Linked DNA regions of Homo sapiens: regions 2, 3 and 4 are each linked to region 1. Evidence: promoter capture Hi-C in 16 types of primary human blood cells and fetal thymus (Javierre and others, 2016). All regions are on one chromosome and are shown on one strand. The core of a region is centred on a gene start or on the middle of the fragment in contact, and the rest is flanking DNA. Distances in the headings are between cores, read along the strand shown. Region 1 holds the start of WWC3 (WWC family member 3). Region 2 overlaps HCCS-DT (HCCS divergent transcript). Region 3 has its middle 15 kb from the start of ANOS1. Region 4 has its middle 14 kb from the start of HCCS.

Evidence for each region. Contacts are between HindIII fragments. The CHiCAGO score rates a contact against its expected background, and 5 or more counts as called.
Region 2: a fragment that was not itself captured here is called in contact with the fragment with the promoter of WWC3 in region 1 in 1 of 17 cell types (non-activated CD4 T cells); the score reaches 6.0 in non-activated CD4 T cells.
Region 3: a fragment that was not itself captured here is called in contact with the fragment with the promoter of WWC3 in region 1 in 4 of 17 cell types (total B cells, naive CD8 T cells, naive B cells and 1 more); the score reaches 6.6 in total B cells.
Region 4: a contact is called between a fragment that was not itself captured here and the fragment with the promoter of WWC3 in region 1, in 1 of 17 cell types (non-activated CD4 T cells). The highest score is 5.3, in non-activated CD4 T cells.

The regions. Positions count from the first base shown.
Region 1 is chrX:10,013,347-10,016,749 of GRCh38, forward strand. WWC3 (WWC family member 3) reads left to right here and starts at 1,908. Exons shown (of 24, transcript NM_015691.5): 1 at 1,908-2,327; 2 at 2,330-2,512. The coding sequence starts at 2,233. RefSeq lists enhancers at 23-906, 907-1,790 and silencers at 1,611-1,780, 1,821-1,880. The HindIII fragment of the contact is 8,733 bases long and covers 1-3,403 here.
Region 2 is chrX:11,100,128-11,103,476 of GRCh38, forward strand. All of the region lies in intron 2 of HCCS-DT (HCCS divergent transcript), which reads right to left. Among named protein-coding and RNA genes, the nearest start is that of HCCS-DT, 9.3 kb to the right of the region's middle. RefSeq lists an enhancer at 2,977-3,176. The HindIII fragment of the contact is 227 bases long and covers 1,318-1,544 here.
Region 3 is chrX:8,745,451-8,749,121 of GRCh38, forward strand. No RefSeq gene overlaps it. Among named protein-coding and RNA genes, the nearest start is that of ANOS1, 15 kb to the left of the region's middle. The HindIII fragment of the contact is 4,113 bases long and covers 172-3,671 here.
Region 4 is chrX:11,123,091-11,126,652 of GRCh38, forward strand. No RefSeq gene overlaps it. Among named protein-coding and RNA genes, the nearest start is that of HCCS, 14 kb to the left of the region's middle. The HindIII fragment of the contact is 685 bases long and covers 1,113-1,797 here.

The DNA of each region.
Region 1 (3,403 bases), core at 658-3,157:
AGCAAGAAAGTTTCTGTGTTGTAGTAGGAGGAGGGAGAGGAAAGACCTTCCTTGGATAGTTTTTTGGACGTCGCTATACCTTCACAACTTCACATTCTTCTTCTTCTTCTTCTTCTTTTTTTTTTTTTTTTTTTTTTTTTGAGACAGGGTCTCTGTTCCATCGCCCAGCCTGGAGTGCAATCGTGCAAACACGGCTCACTGCAGCCTCGACCTCCCTGGCTCAAGTGATCCTCCCACCTCAGCCTCCCAAAGTGTTGGGATTAAAGGTGTGAGCCACCGAGCCCGGCCCCACATTCTTCTAATTTTTTTTTTGTTGTTGTTGAGATGGAGTCTCACTCTGTCGTCCAGGCTGGAGTGCAGTGGCGCGATCTCAGCTCACTGCAACCTCCCAGGTTCAAGCAGTTCTCCTGCCTCAGCCTCCCGAGTAGCTGGGATTACAGGCGTGCGCCACCATGCCCGGCTAATTTTTGTATTTTTAGTAGAGACGGGGATTTCACCATGCTGGCCAGGCTCGTCTCGAACTCCTGACCTCGTGATCCGCCCGCCTGGGCCTCCCAAAGTGCTAGGATTACAAGCGTGAGCCACCGCGCCCGGCCCATTCTTCTTTTTTAAAACAACCTTTCCCCTCATAAAAGTAATATTACCATTTTACAAAAAATTGGAAGGCAAATCATTTTTAAAAATCCCGCCAAAGGAATGCAAACTCTTGTGAGCATTTCAGGACATTTTCCTCCAGTCTCTTCCCCTGTGTATCTGGATTTCAATCAGGCTCTACCAGATATTTTTGTATCACTGTAACTGTTTAAAAATCTCCCTGATACTGTCCTGCATTTCCTGGCATAACGTGTTGCGGCTGTGGGTCTGGGGCACGAAGTAGGTGGGAGATTTAGAGCAAGACACAGCCCCAACTCTGGAGCTTCAGCTTCCCCAGCTGGGAGCCAGTGAAACAGAAGTTCCCGTCTAGGCTGAAAGTTTTAGGAGTTGACCCGGCTTCCTCCCCAGCAATGGTCTACTTGGGTCTCCGCTCAAACGATCAGACCCCACAAACCGGATGAAGCGCTCAGGGAAGGTCAAGGAACTCCCGCCTAGTGTGGGCCCCCAGGTTAGCCCTTCTAGGGCTGTCCTGGCGGGGACGCAAAGTGGCCACCTGCCCAGCTGCCCGCTTCCAGAGGCGTCCTCCCTGCGCCGCCCGAGAGGACCGGCCGCGGGCTCCCCCAGCTCCTCAGCTCCCTCGGCCCCGCCTTCAGGGGCTTTTCCCACCTTCGCGGGACCAGACGGGTTGTGTGGGAGACCGAGGGCGCAGCCTCCCGCCAAGTGCGCAGAGGGTCTCCAGACAGCCAGAGCCCGGGAGCGGGTGAAGGGAGGGCACTGCCCGCTCTCTCGGGAATTGTTTGCGCCCGAGGAGTCACCCCAGGCAGGCCGCGCCCGCAGTCCGGGTAGGGCGTCGTCCTCCCCGCCCGCCTTCCTCTACGCGGGGGCCCGGGGGCGGACTGACGCGGCGGCGCCCATCCTGGCCTCCATGCGGTTTCCCGAGGCCGGAGGAAGGTGGCGGAGCGGGAGGGAGAGAGCGAGGAGCGCGCGGAGAGGGAGGACGGCGGAGGGGGAGGAGCAAGCGGAGGGGTGGGGGTGGGGTCGAGGAGCCGAGCGCCGAGGAGGACCCCGAGGGAGACTGGGGGCGGAGCAGCCGGCGACGGAGAGGCGCGGAGGACGCGGGGCCGGGGGAGGCGGAGCAGCGGGAGTGGGTGGAAAAGCAGAGGCGGCGGGAGGAGCGGGAGCCTCCGTGGGAGATTCGGGAGGAGCAGCCGGCGTGGGTGGAGCCGCCGGCGTGGGAGGAGCCGCGGGGCCTGGGTGAGAACGGGGCGGGACGGCCGGAGGCGGGGCCTGCGAACGCCCTGCCCCTGCTCGCCCGGGCCGCGCCGAGGAACGAAGATGGCCGGGCGCGCCGCGGGAACGGAGGGGCGGCCGGCAGCGGCGGCGGCGGCGGCGGCGGCTCCCGGGCTGTGACTTCGCGCGCGGCGGCCACCCGGGCTACCTGAACGGAGTGGGCGGCGCGGGCAGCGGCTTGCTAGGGCGGGCGGGCGGACGCCGGTGCACGGGCGCCGGGCGGAGGATGCGCCAGGAGCGGCGGGCGGCTCCCCGCGGCCGCCCCCGCGCCCCGGGCGCCGGGCCTTAGTGCTGGCGGAGGAGGCGGCGCGCGCGGGGCGGCCGGGCGGCGGCGGGGCCCGCGCCGTCATGCCTTGGCTGAGCGGCGGCCGGCGGCGACGGCGGGGACAGCCGCGCGAGGCCCCGCGGGAGCCGCCGCCTTCTGCGCAGCCCCAGCGGGAACCGCGCCGCCGGCGCCCCCCGCCGCGGTCCCCACGCCCCCAGCTCCTTCCGCGCCGCCGCCGCGGGCCCGGGAGAGCGCCGAGCTGCCGCTGCCCGCCGGCTGGGAGGAGGCGCGAGACTACGACGGTCGCGTCTTTTACATTGACCACAACACGCGCCAGACGTCGTGGATCGACCCCCGCGACCGGTAAGCGGGCCGGCTGGGGGCGCCAGACCCGGCGCGGGCGCTACGACCCGGGCCGCCGGCCGGCGCCACCGCGGATGCGCTGGGGACACGCCCCGCCCAGCGCGGGGCCGCCGCCGAGAGCCCCCGGGCCCGGGCAGAGCTCGGAGCGCCTCCATCCCCGGAACCAGGGGACTCCCTGGAGTGCTCCGGTCCAGGCTACGATCGAGGCGCCCCCATCCCTTGGGCCCAGGGAGAGGATCGGAGACACCAGGAGGCCCTCGGGGCTGGGTGAAGATCTTTGGTTCCGGGGGTCCGGGAGAGGATCCACCCTCCCAATACCCCGACTCCCAGGGCTCTGACCAAGAATGGAGGTGCCCCTTCTCCAGGCCTCGAGCCCTCTGAGCGCCGAGGCCGGCCGCCTACAGGTCCCCCGCCGCTGGGCGGACCCTCTCATTCGGTTCCCTCACGTCACCCGCTGTCCGGCGCCTGGGAACTGGGCTCCTGGAATTTCCTCTCCTGGGGCTGACAGATGGCCCTCTTTTCCTTTCTCTGCGGCAGCCTCGCCCATCCCGGTCCCGGGCGTCTGCGGCCCACTGCCCCGGCCCTGGTTCTGCAGGTGTCCCCAGCCCCGCGGTGGCGAGATGAGCTGTCACCTTGGATCACAAACGTGCGCCCCAGCTTTGGGGTGCGGGTTCCCTGTCTGGCGGGTTCAGGCTGGTTTCCATCCAAAACCTGATGTCAGACGGGCCCTTGAGGGATTCCCAACCCTTTTGGAGTTGGAGAAGTCTGTTCCCAAACTCTAGTTGCTCTTTAGCGCCTTAAAACTCGTGAGTTAAAACTGTTTGAAATAGCCTTCTGTACTGCAGCCAGAATGCAATATGATTAGTCCCATATGCTTTTGGAATAAACGAA
Region 2 (3,349 bases), core at 181-2,680, 1.1 Mb after region 1:
CCAAAGTGCTGGGATTGCGGGCATGAGCCACCACACCCGGCTGCTGATGACACTTTATTGGCAATCTTGGGAAGGGAAAAAAGACCAAGTAGAAGTAGCAACGGGACCCCTAACATTGATATTGCCTGATGACTGGGCTGGCCAAAGTCTGGTGCCAGGACCCCTATCCTACCAGTGGTTCCAGACACCACCGAGGGAATCTGGAAGGAGAAATAAAGCCCACAACACGCCACCAAGTGGCTGCAATATTACTCTTGCAGTGAAGATACTTTTTTTTTCCTCCTTTGTTTCCATAGGGTACTTTTCTAAACCTGTCCAAAGTCCCTCTCACTAGATTCCTTAACTGTCACTTAAAGTGTTATCTATGACTCAGAATTTCCTAACATAAATTCTATAACCTCCCTCCTTTCCTCAGGAAAGTTACCAACTGAGGCCTACTCACACCAAAACTCTGATCCTAGTGGCTGTGAGATGTCTGAATGCTGTTTAAACTGTGCACTTACATGTGTTTGCAGGTAGTGATAAATAAGAACTCTTCTTTGTTGTCGTGCTTATTCACAGTTTAACTTGGCTTCCTCTGCTTCAGACAGAAGGGAACTGAAGTAAATTCTTAAGACACACAAGGAAAGAAAGTTCTTTGCGCTGAAGGCGGTTCGCCAAGGTGCTAATTCCATCTTTGGTAGGTTTCTCCCAGGACTGTGTTCCTCATCCAGGAATTTCCCTGAGCTTGATGGGTCACACGTCCAAATTCCAGCTTTGAATAAATAAACCAACTAAAGTGCTCAGTTGCCTCAGGGATTAGCAGAGCAGTTCACGAACTTCCATCGCCCCCCAGTGGCAATTAGTTGGATCTTTTTGTTAGGGATTTTCTTATGCTTAAAATTTAGGTTATCGTTCTCCCCTCCAAAGTTGTTTTAAGTTTTTGTTTGTTTGTTTGTTTAATTCTCACACTGAAGATTATAAAGTCTTTGTGTGGAGGTATGTTGGTAATGTCAAATTAATGGCTTCTGGGTCACCAGGTCATAGACGGATAAGATGTAGTATCTGCTTTCATGGTTCTAAGTAAAAGACTGATTTTCAACCTGGTCTCTATTCTGAGGCTCCATCCTGAGAGAAGGTGAAAATAAGCAGCACTAAATCACTAAATCCAGAAAGGACTCTCAGTGGGTGGCATCAAGGTAACCTAGAGAGCCAGTTAGCCTTGGTTGCATATAGATGAGAACTCAGCCACCCACAGTGATAGTATCTACTCTGAAAACAAGATATAGGCTATGTGAGATTCCAAAAATAAAAAGCAGAAACTGTGTTGAGGGAGAAAGCTTATATACATATGAAGTAGCCAAGAAACACTTTTCTAGCATAATAAATTCATAAATTCATGCAACATACAGTCAATGATTTTTGATAGCTAGCATAAAGTACTTCACCTTGTTTTATAGAAAAAGAAGAAGTGGAATTTAGGAAAGTTTAGACTGAAGAGGCTTATCTTCAACTCAAAAAAGGGAAGGTTCTTGCCTCCCTGCCCACAGTGGAGTTAGTACTTAAGCTTATTTTTCAGATCATAGTAAATTCCTTTGGTTCACCACCTGCCATGCTCCACCCCCACACCCCTTTTAAATTTAAAACCAGGTTTGTAGTCCTTTAAATAATACTGACCCAGTTCTAAATTCCTACACACCAAACAGTCCTGCCAATGCTAAATCCTGAGTAGAAGTGTTTGTCCTTCAGCTTCCTTTACTCAGAATTTGTCTCCTTTCCAGCCAGAACATTCTCCTTCCCTGGCCACCCCTCTCCCCTTGGCTTTGGAAGGCAAACTTTACCTAATCTGTTTTGTTTAAGAATCCTAAATCTTAGTGGTTTAAGGGCCTCAGTATTAGTACACACAAGCACACATATATAAATTTAAGAACAAAGAATGTTTTATTATCAGCTCATTGTATTTTGTATAATATTTGTTTAATAAATTCACCCTTAAAGTATAAGCCTCTGTCAGTTAGGCCTGGCCTCCCCATCTCCTGGACCCCAAGGTCTTATTCACTTGAATCTCCCAGTCCATGGTCCATGGAATATCAAGTTTCCCTGAGTTATATGTTACTCCTCAGGGACTTAGGCTCCTATGGTCACTTCTGCCTCTGGACTCCTCTCTCTGCTTGTGCTGGCTCAGTTTACATTGACCTAGAGGGGAAACTCTGCCCCTTTATCATCTTCTATGAAAACCCATTCACTAAATTACTTGCTGATTTTGTAAAACACTCATAACAAAATAGAGATATATGGATACTTCTTAAACATGACAAAAAACTTTATGCCAATCTAAAAGTTCGCAAAATGCTTAATGGATAGACACTAGACACTTTTCCACAAAAATTAGGAATGTCTACTGCCACTTTTATTTAACGTTTTGCTGGAAAGTCTTAGCCTATGCAGGAGAAAGAAATTAGAGGCATGAGGCCAGGCGCAGGGGCTCACGCCTGTAATCCCAGCACTTTGAGAGGCCGAGGTGGGCGGATCGCCTGAGGTCAGGAGTTTGAGACCAGCCTGGCCAACATGGTGAAACCCCATCTCTACTGAAAAAAAAAAAAAAAATACAAAAATTAGCCGGGCATGGTGGCAGGTGCCTGTAATCCTACCTACTTGGGAGGCTGAGGTAGGAGGATCACTTGAACTTGGGAGGTGGAGGTTGCAGCGAGCCGAGATCATGCCATTGCACTCCAGCCTGGGCAACAAGAGCGAGACTTCGTCTCAAAAAAAAAAAAAAAAAAACAAAAGAAATTAGAGGCATTAAAGTTGGACGGGAGGAAGTAAAATCATTATTAGTTGAGATTATATGAAATAATCCCTGGAAAATCCAAAATAAACACACAAACATTAAGACTAAAGACAAGAGAATCCAAAACATAGGAGAGTATAAAATGGATGTAGTCATTGGAGCTTGTCTTTAGTCCATTTTGTGTTACTACAACAAAATACCTGAGGCTGGGTAGTTTATAAAGAAAAGAGGTTTGTTTGGCTTAGAGTTCTATAGGCTGTTCAAGAAGCATGGAACCGGCATCTTCTCAGCTTCTGGTGAGGGCTTTCATGTTGAGTCAGCAGAGAAAGTCAAAGGCAAACCAGGCACATGTGAAGAGAGAGTAAACATGAGGGGGATCCTCACTTTGTAACAATCCTGCTCTTGCCGGAACCAATCCATTCCCGAGAATTAATCCAGTCTTGTGAGAGTGAGAACCCACTACCATTAGAAAGTCACCAAGTCATTCATGAAGGATTTACCCCATGACCCAGACATCTTCCATTAGGCCCCAGCTCCCAGCACTGCCACACTGCAGATCAAATTTCAAAATTAGCTTTG
Region 3 (3,671 bases), core at 978-3,477, 1.3 Mb before region 1:
ATAGTTAGCTAAATAAGTAAAATGGGCTATACCTGGAACAATGTTGCAAATGTCACGGACCAGGAGTTACAATTTATCTAACTCAGTGTACCTGAAAATTAAAAATATAATGAAGTCAAAATAACAGTGCCAGACACTGCATGGTCACTTAAGCAGCAACACAGGGTCCTAAGCTTCTGTTGCAATATTAAATGCATCATTTGTTAAAAGAATGGGTCAGAAAGCAATGGTTTGTTTGTTTGTTTGTTTTGTATTCTTTCTGGATGGAAAGTCAGAGAAGAATAAGGCTTAGTAATTGAGTGTTTTTCTTAGGAATAATAAGGAACCAAAAGATAGTGTTCAGATGACTGAAAAGTGTTAGCCTTGGGGATAAAATAGCCCTAGACTTTTGTAGAGCTGTCTCAAGTACCTAGTGAAACAATATGTCACTGTCAGAAAAAATGAGAAGGTAAAGAGTCCAAGACAGGGAACTGACACATGAGGAGAAGATGAGAACTCCGTGGTTTAAACAACCCATGCTTGCAATGACACTGGTCTTCTTTTTTTATTATTATTTTTATTTTTCCATAAGTTATTGGGGTACAGGTTGTATTTGGTTACATGAGTAAGTTCTTCAGTGGTGATTAGTGGGATTTTGGTGCACCCATCACCTGAGCAGTGTACACTGCACCATATTTGTAGTTTTTTTGTCTCTCGTCCCCCTCCCGCTCTTCTCCCCAAGTCTCCAATCTTTGGCATGGGTGCGATGAACAGGGAACACTTCTACACTGCTGGTGGGAATGTAAACTAATACAGTCGCTATGGAAAACAGTGTGGAGATTCCTTAAAAAACTAAAAGTAGAACTACCATTTGATCCAGCAATCCTGCTACTGGATATCTACCCAGAGGAAAAGAAGTCATTATTCGAAAAAGATGTTTGCACACACATGTTTATAGCAGCACCATTCACAATTGCAAAATTGTGGAACCAACCCAAATCAATCAACAAGTAGATAAAGAAACTGTGATATATATATGATGGAATACTATGCAGCCATAAAAAGCAATGAATTAACAGCATTTGCAGTGCCCTGGATGAGATTGGAGACTATTATTCTAAGTGAAGTAACTCAGGAATGGAAAACCAAACATTGTGTGTTCTCACTGATATGTGGGAGCTAAGCTATGAGGACGCAAAGGCATAAGAATGAGGCTGGCCTTCTGTGGAGCTCACTGTGCCTGTCTGCAGGGAGGGAATGCCTTTCTTTATAGTTTTTCACTCTCCTGGGAGACACGGATTTCAGGATCAGCATTATATGCATAATGTTCAAAATAAAATGGGCCAAATGAGATCACATAGGAGTAAGTGTGGGTATAAAACAGCTATAAGGAGATTTCAGAGGATTTTAAAAGGCACCACAAGCTAGAAAAATAGTTACTACAATAATATGTCTTTCCTTATATCTACAGGTTGGTGAGCTCTGGAATGTGCAGACGGGTAATTTGGGCAAATTTTAAGTAATGCAATATTGGGAAGTAATATGTGGGAAATCTCTCTGTGTCAGTCATTTGAGGTTTTCTGCTACTTTTATTGAATTGTATTCTTTTATCTCTGTTAAGACTCATTTACTTTCCAATTACTTGGGTGAGTTTCAGGAGAGACTCCTGTTAAATGTGCTTTTTAAATGCTATTGGGAGACTATTCAGTAATATGATAAGTCAACTTCTGTTTATTTCTAACTTCGTAACTAATTCCGGGAAAGTTCTGAGCACATGGTGGGGAGAGACGGAGAGAGACGGAGAGAGACAGAGAGAGAGAGAAAGAGAGAAAGAGACGGGGGTGGAGAGAGAGAGAGAGATAATACTTGCACCACTGTAATTAAAGTGAAGGGAAGTGAATAAGAATCCAAGTAAAAAAGCAGACTGTTTAAGTTCAAACCACAGCTAATTATTCTTCTTTTTTTTTTATTATACTTTAAGTTTTAGGGTACATGTGCACATTGTGCAGGTTAGTTACATATGTATACATGTGCCATGCTGGTGAGCTGCACCCACTAACTCGTCATCTAGCATTAGGTATATCTCCCAATGCTATCCCTCCCCCCTCCCCCCACCGCTAATTATTCTAAAAGCGATTTTAAAATTCTCAATCCACAGGCATTTTTATGTGCTGAGTTTTATTGTTGTTGTTGTTGTTGTTCTTTGTTTGTTTGTTTTTTGAGATGCAGTCTCGCTCTGTCATCCAGGCTGGAGCGCAGTGGCGTGATCTCAGCTCACTGCAGCCTCCGCCTCCTGGGTTCAAGCGATTCTCCTGCCTCAGCCTCCTGAGCAGCTGAGATTACAGGCAGGTGCTACCACATCTGGCTGATTTTTGTATTTTTTGGTAGAGATGGGATTTTTCCATGTTGGCTAGGCTGGTCTTGAACTCCCAGCCTCAAGTGATTCGCCTGCCTCAGCCTCCTAAAGTGCTGAGATTACAAGCACCTTGCTCGGCAAGTGCTGGTTTCTAATTACAGATAAATTATAATGGCTTTGATTTAGACTTGCAATCTCACACACTAACAGCATGAAATACTACATAAGGTGAACTATTATTATTATTATTATTATTAGCTTGCCTCTCTGATGAGTCACTGAAATATTCACTATAAAGAAATGGACTTAGAACTTGAAGGTTGCCACAAAGTTGTCAAAACAAAGAAGGAAATACTTTTATTATATTCCAAAACTTTCTTTTCTGTTTTTTAATGTGGATTTTTCTTTAAGTGAAAGAAAATCTTCTTTTATAAAATATAAACAAGTACATAGGAACTTATGGAGTAATGACAGCTGTTAAATTCTGGTTTAAGTTGGAGAATTGTGTCATTTTATTTGTGGATACTTTTAGTGTGGATAAGATAAATCAACTGTGGGTGGTTTTGAGTTCCTGCATTATTTTATTTATTTATTTATTTTGAGACGAAGTCTTGCTCTGTTGCCCAGGCTGGAGTGCAGTGGTGCGATCTCGGCTCACTGCAAGCTCCGTCTCCCGGGTTCACGCCATTCTCCTGCCTCAGCCTCCCGAGTAGCTGGGACTATAGGTGCCCGCCACACTAATTAGCCCGCCGGGCTAATTTTTTGTATTTTTAGTAGAGACGGGGTTTCACTGTGTTAGCCAGGATGGTCTCGATCTCCTGACCTCGTGATCTGCCCACCTCGGCCTCCCAAAGTGCTAGGATTTCAGGCGCGAGCCACCGCGCCCGGCCTACATTATATCATTTAAATGGGTGCTGCTCAATGCTAAAAACTATTAGGAATTTTAAAATGCAGAGGCCTAGGCCCTACTGCGAGACATCCACATTTAATTGGTCTGGGGTGGCTTTGGTGTCAGTATTGTTTAAAGCACCTTGGTGATTTGAATGCCTCCAGGTTAGAGAATCAACAAGAAGAATACTTTTCCCTAAATTCAAATAGTAGATTTCAGAAAAGTCCTGGTAATTGGATTAAAATAATGGGAAACTCATGGTTTCTCAACATCAACCCCATTGACGTTTTAGACAGGATCCCTCTTCGTCTTGGAGACTGTCTTCTGTGTGGGATTTTTAGCAACAACCCTGGCCTTTCACCACTAGATGGTAGTAGAACCTCTTACCACTTACAACACCAACTGTGTCTCCGACATTGCCAAAGGGACCCCGGTGGGGCAAAATCG
Region 4 (3,562 bases), core at 205-2,704, 1.1 Mb after region 1:
TTGGAATAATTTTACACTTAACGATTGTTTCTTCAGACGTATTATCTTTATAAAACCAATGCTTTATGATAGAATGATTTATAACCCAGCACACATATGTTTATTGCAGCACTGTTCACAATAGCAAAGACTTGGAACCAACCCAAATGCCCATCAATGATAGACTAGATAAAGAAAATGTGGCACATATATACTACAGAATACTATGCAGCCACAAAAAAGGATGAGTTCATGTCCTTTGCAGGGACATGGATGAAGCTGGAAACTATAATTCTCAGCAAACTATCACAAGAACAGAAAACCAAACACCGCATGTTCTCAAGAGTGGGGGTTGAACAATGAGAATACATGGACACAGGGAAGGGAACATCACTGGGGCCCGTCTCGGGGCCGGGGGGGGGTGGGGGGGGTTGGGGGGGGTGGGGAGGAGGCTAGTGGAGGGATAGCATTAGGAGAAATACCTAATATAGATGACGGGTTGATGGCTGCAGCAAACCAGCATGGCATGTGTATACCTATGTAACAAAAGTGCACGTTCTGCATATGTACCCCAGAACTTAAAGTATAATAATTTTTTTTTAAAAAAAACAATGCTATAGTCTCCCTACTCCAAGCAGCCACTTTTTCATCTACTAATCTTTTTTTTTTTTTTGAAATGGGAGTCACGCTCTGTCACCCAGACTGAAGTTCAGTGGCACAATCTCAGCTCACTGCAACCTCCACCTCCCGAGTTCAAGCGATTCTCCTGCCTCAGCCTCCCGAGTAGCTGGGATTACAGGTGCATGCCACCACGCCTGGCTAATTTTTGTATTTTTAGTAGAGACGGGGCTTCACCATGTTGGTCAGGCTGGTCTTGAACGCCTGACCTCATGATCCACCCGCCTTGACCTCCCAAAGTGCTGGGATTACAGGCGTGAGCCACCGCACCCAGCCCTAATCACATATTTTTAAACTGTAGAGGAAAATAATTACTGTTGGCATTTTTTGGGGGGGTCTTAAGTGCTATCGAATGAGTGTGGGATAAGACATTCTTATGAAAGACAAAACACTAACTGGAAACAAAAAATATGCCAAAGGCAGGATTCACCTGTTTTATAGGACTGTGGTAAACAAGCTTTAAACTCAAGCAAACTTGATGACAAGATCAAGTTTTATACATCGTTTTACTACTTCCAGAAAAAACCATGGCTTCCTGGATTGTCAGAGCTGCTTTGTGTCTAGATTATGCTTGATTGGGTCCAGGGGTCAATACTGATAGGAGTTTTCGTGTACAGCTTGAAACTCATTTAGGATATTCTCTGGAGTTTTAAACTAAGTCTTGTGTCTGTGGAAATAGCACTATTCAGAATCAGAACAAATTACTGAACATCAGGCTAAGTATTGGCAGACAAGCTGGGGCTACAAATGGATTGCATATTAACATTTAGTATTCCTGTCAGTCACTGGCTAACAAAATGTTTATGTCCCCTTTGTGCATCGTATAAGGAATACAAAATTGCAAAAGGTATAACCCTGATATGGTTTGGCTGTGGCCCCACCCAAATCTCACCTTGAATTTTAATAATCCCCACGTGTCAAGGGCAGGGCAAGGTGGAGATAATTAAATCATGGGGGCAGTTTCCCCTATACTGTTCTCCTGGTAGTGAATAAGTCTCAGGAGATCTGATGGTTCTTTAAATGGGAGTTCCCCGCACAACTTCTTTTGCCTGCTGCCACGTAAGACATCCCTTTGCTCTTCCTTCGCCTTTCACCATGATTGTGAGGCCTCCCCAGCCATGTGGAACTGTGAGTCCATTAAGCTTCTTTCCTTTATAAATTACCCAGTCTTGGGCATGTCCTTATTAGCAGCATGGGAACAGACTAATACCCCTACTTGCAGGGAACTCAACAATCTTATGGACAGTCTATAAATGAAATGGTGGTAAATGCTAGAACTCCAATTTAAGGAACACATTGTGGTAACACACAGTGTGAGAATTCACGTAAGTATTTTTGAATATTTAGAGATAGTTACCAATTTCTTTACTGAGTCATCATTATGGTTTATCTTCTCCCAGAGATTGCTTCTTAGGGAAAATGAAGCAATGCACATTTCCTGTCTCACCTTTGCAGTGACTGTCAGAATTGTATGACCCGTCATTTGTGTCACCATAGGCTTGAGGCTGTGTGTGTGATGATTACAAATGTGTGTCCTGGAGGCAGAGTCCTTGCCCTGCCCTTTAGTCGCTGTGTGATCTTAATGTCTCTGGGCCTCAGCTTTCTCGGCTATGAAATGAGAGTAATAGAACCAACTTATCAGAGTTGTTTTGCAGGTACTTTGAGGTGATGCCTAAAAGCGCTGGGAACAGAGTCTGTGGGTGGAAATGTTCAGCAAATATTAGCTATCACCATTGATCAACAACAGCAAGGAGAGAAATCAAAGTGCTGAGATATAATCTACTTCTCTCATCCTCTGGCCTTATTCCCCGCCCCACTCCGCCACCAGGAGAATCAGTTTAGAGGGGTAACAGCAGGCTCTAATCCCCATTTTGATCAATTTTAAGGATTACCAGGTGTTTGGGTGCTTGCTCTAAGAAAGCTCATGTTATTTAAAATCATCAAATGGAAAAAGAACAGGTTACAGCCTTTGATCTTTCAAAAAATATCAGGGTAACAAATTAGGTACTTGATATGCAAGTCCCACTTGACAAAAAGAAATATTATATTAAGACAGATACCCAAGCTGGAGTGCACTGGCATGATCTCGGCTCAATGCAACCTCTACCTCCTGGGTTCAAGTGATTCTTGTGCCTCAGCCTCCTGAGAAGCTGGGATTACAGGTGCCTACCACCACACTCAGCGAATTTTTTTGTATTTTTAGTAGAGATGGGGTTTCACCATGTTGGTCAGGCTGGTCTTGAACTTCTGACCTCAAGTGATCCACCCACCTCGGCCTCCCAAAGTGCTGCGATTCTTGTGCTTCTTAATCTAAAATATAGCTCACTGTAATGTCCTTTGGGTCACAAGGTTATCCCCCTCTGTGAAAATATATTACATATCCGGATTCAAAACATATTACAAGGTTGTTTACTGCAAAGAAAAAGATCAAAAATTATTTCAAAAGCCATGTATATTCCTTGTAACTTAAGGTAACATTTAAAAAATTATATAATTTGGGGGGTATATAGTATATCAAAATGAAGCATATGAATTATGCCTTGCGCCACTCATGACAAATAATATCACGTTTTCATTTATAAGTGGGAGCTAAATGATAAGAACACAGAGGGGAACAGCACACACTGGGGCCTATTGGAGGGTGGAGGGTGGGAGGAGGGAGTGGCTTAGGAAAAACAGCTAATGGGTACTAGGCTTCATACCTGGGTGACAAAATAATCTGTACAACAAACCCCCATGACACAAGTTTACCTATGTAACAAGTGTGCACATGTGCCTCTGAACTTTAAAAAGAAAAACATTTACTGCTGCAGTAGAGATTGTCACTGTACCTTCAGTAAAATTTCATGCCATTGGTGTAAGTGGTAAAGTGTCTATTTCATGCTTGTGCACTCTCTAGTTTGGA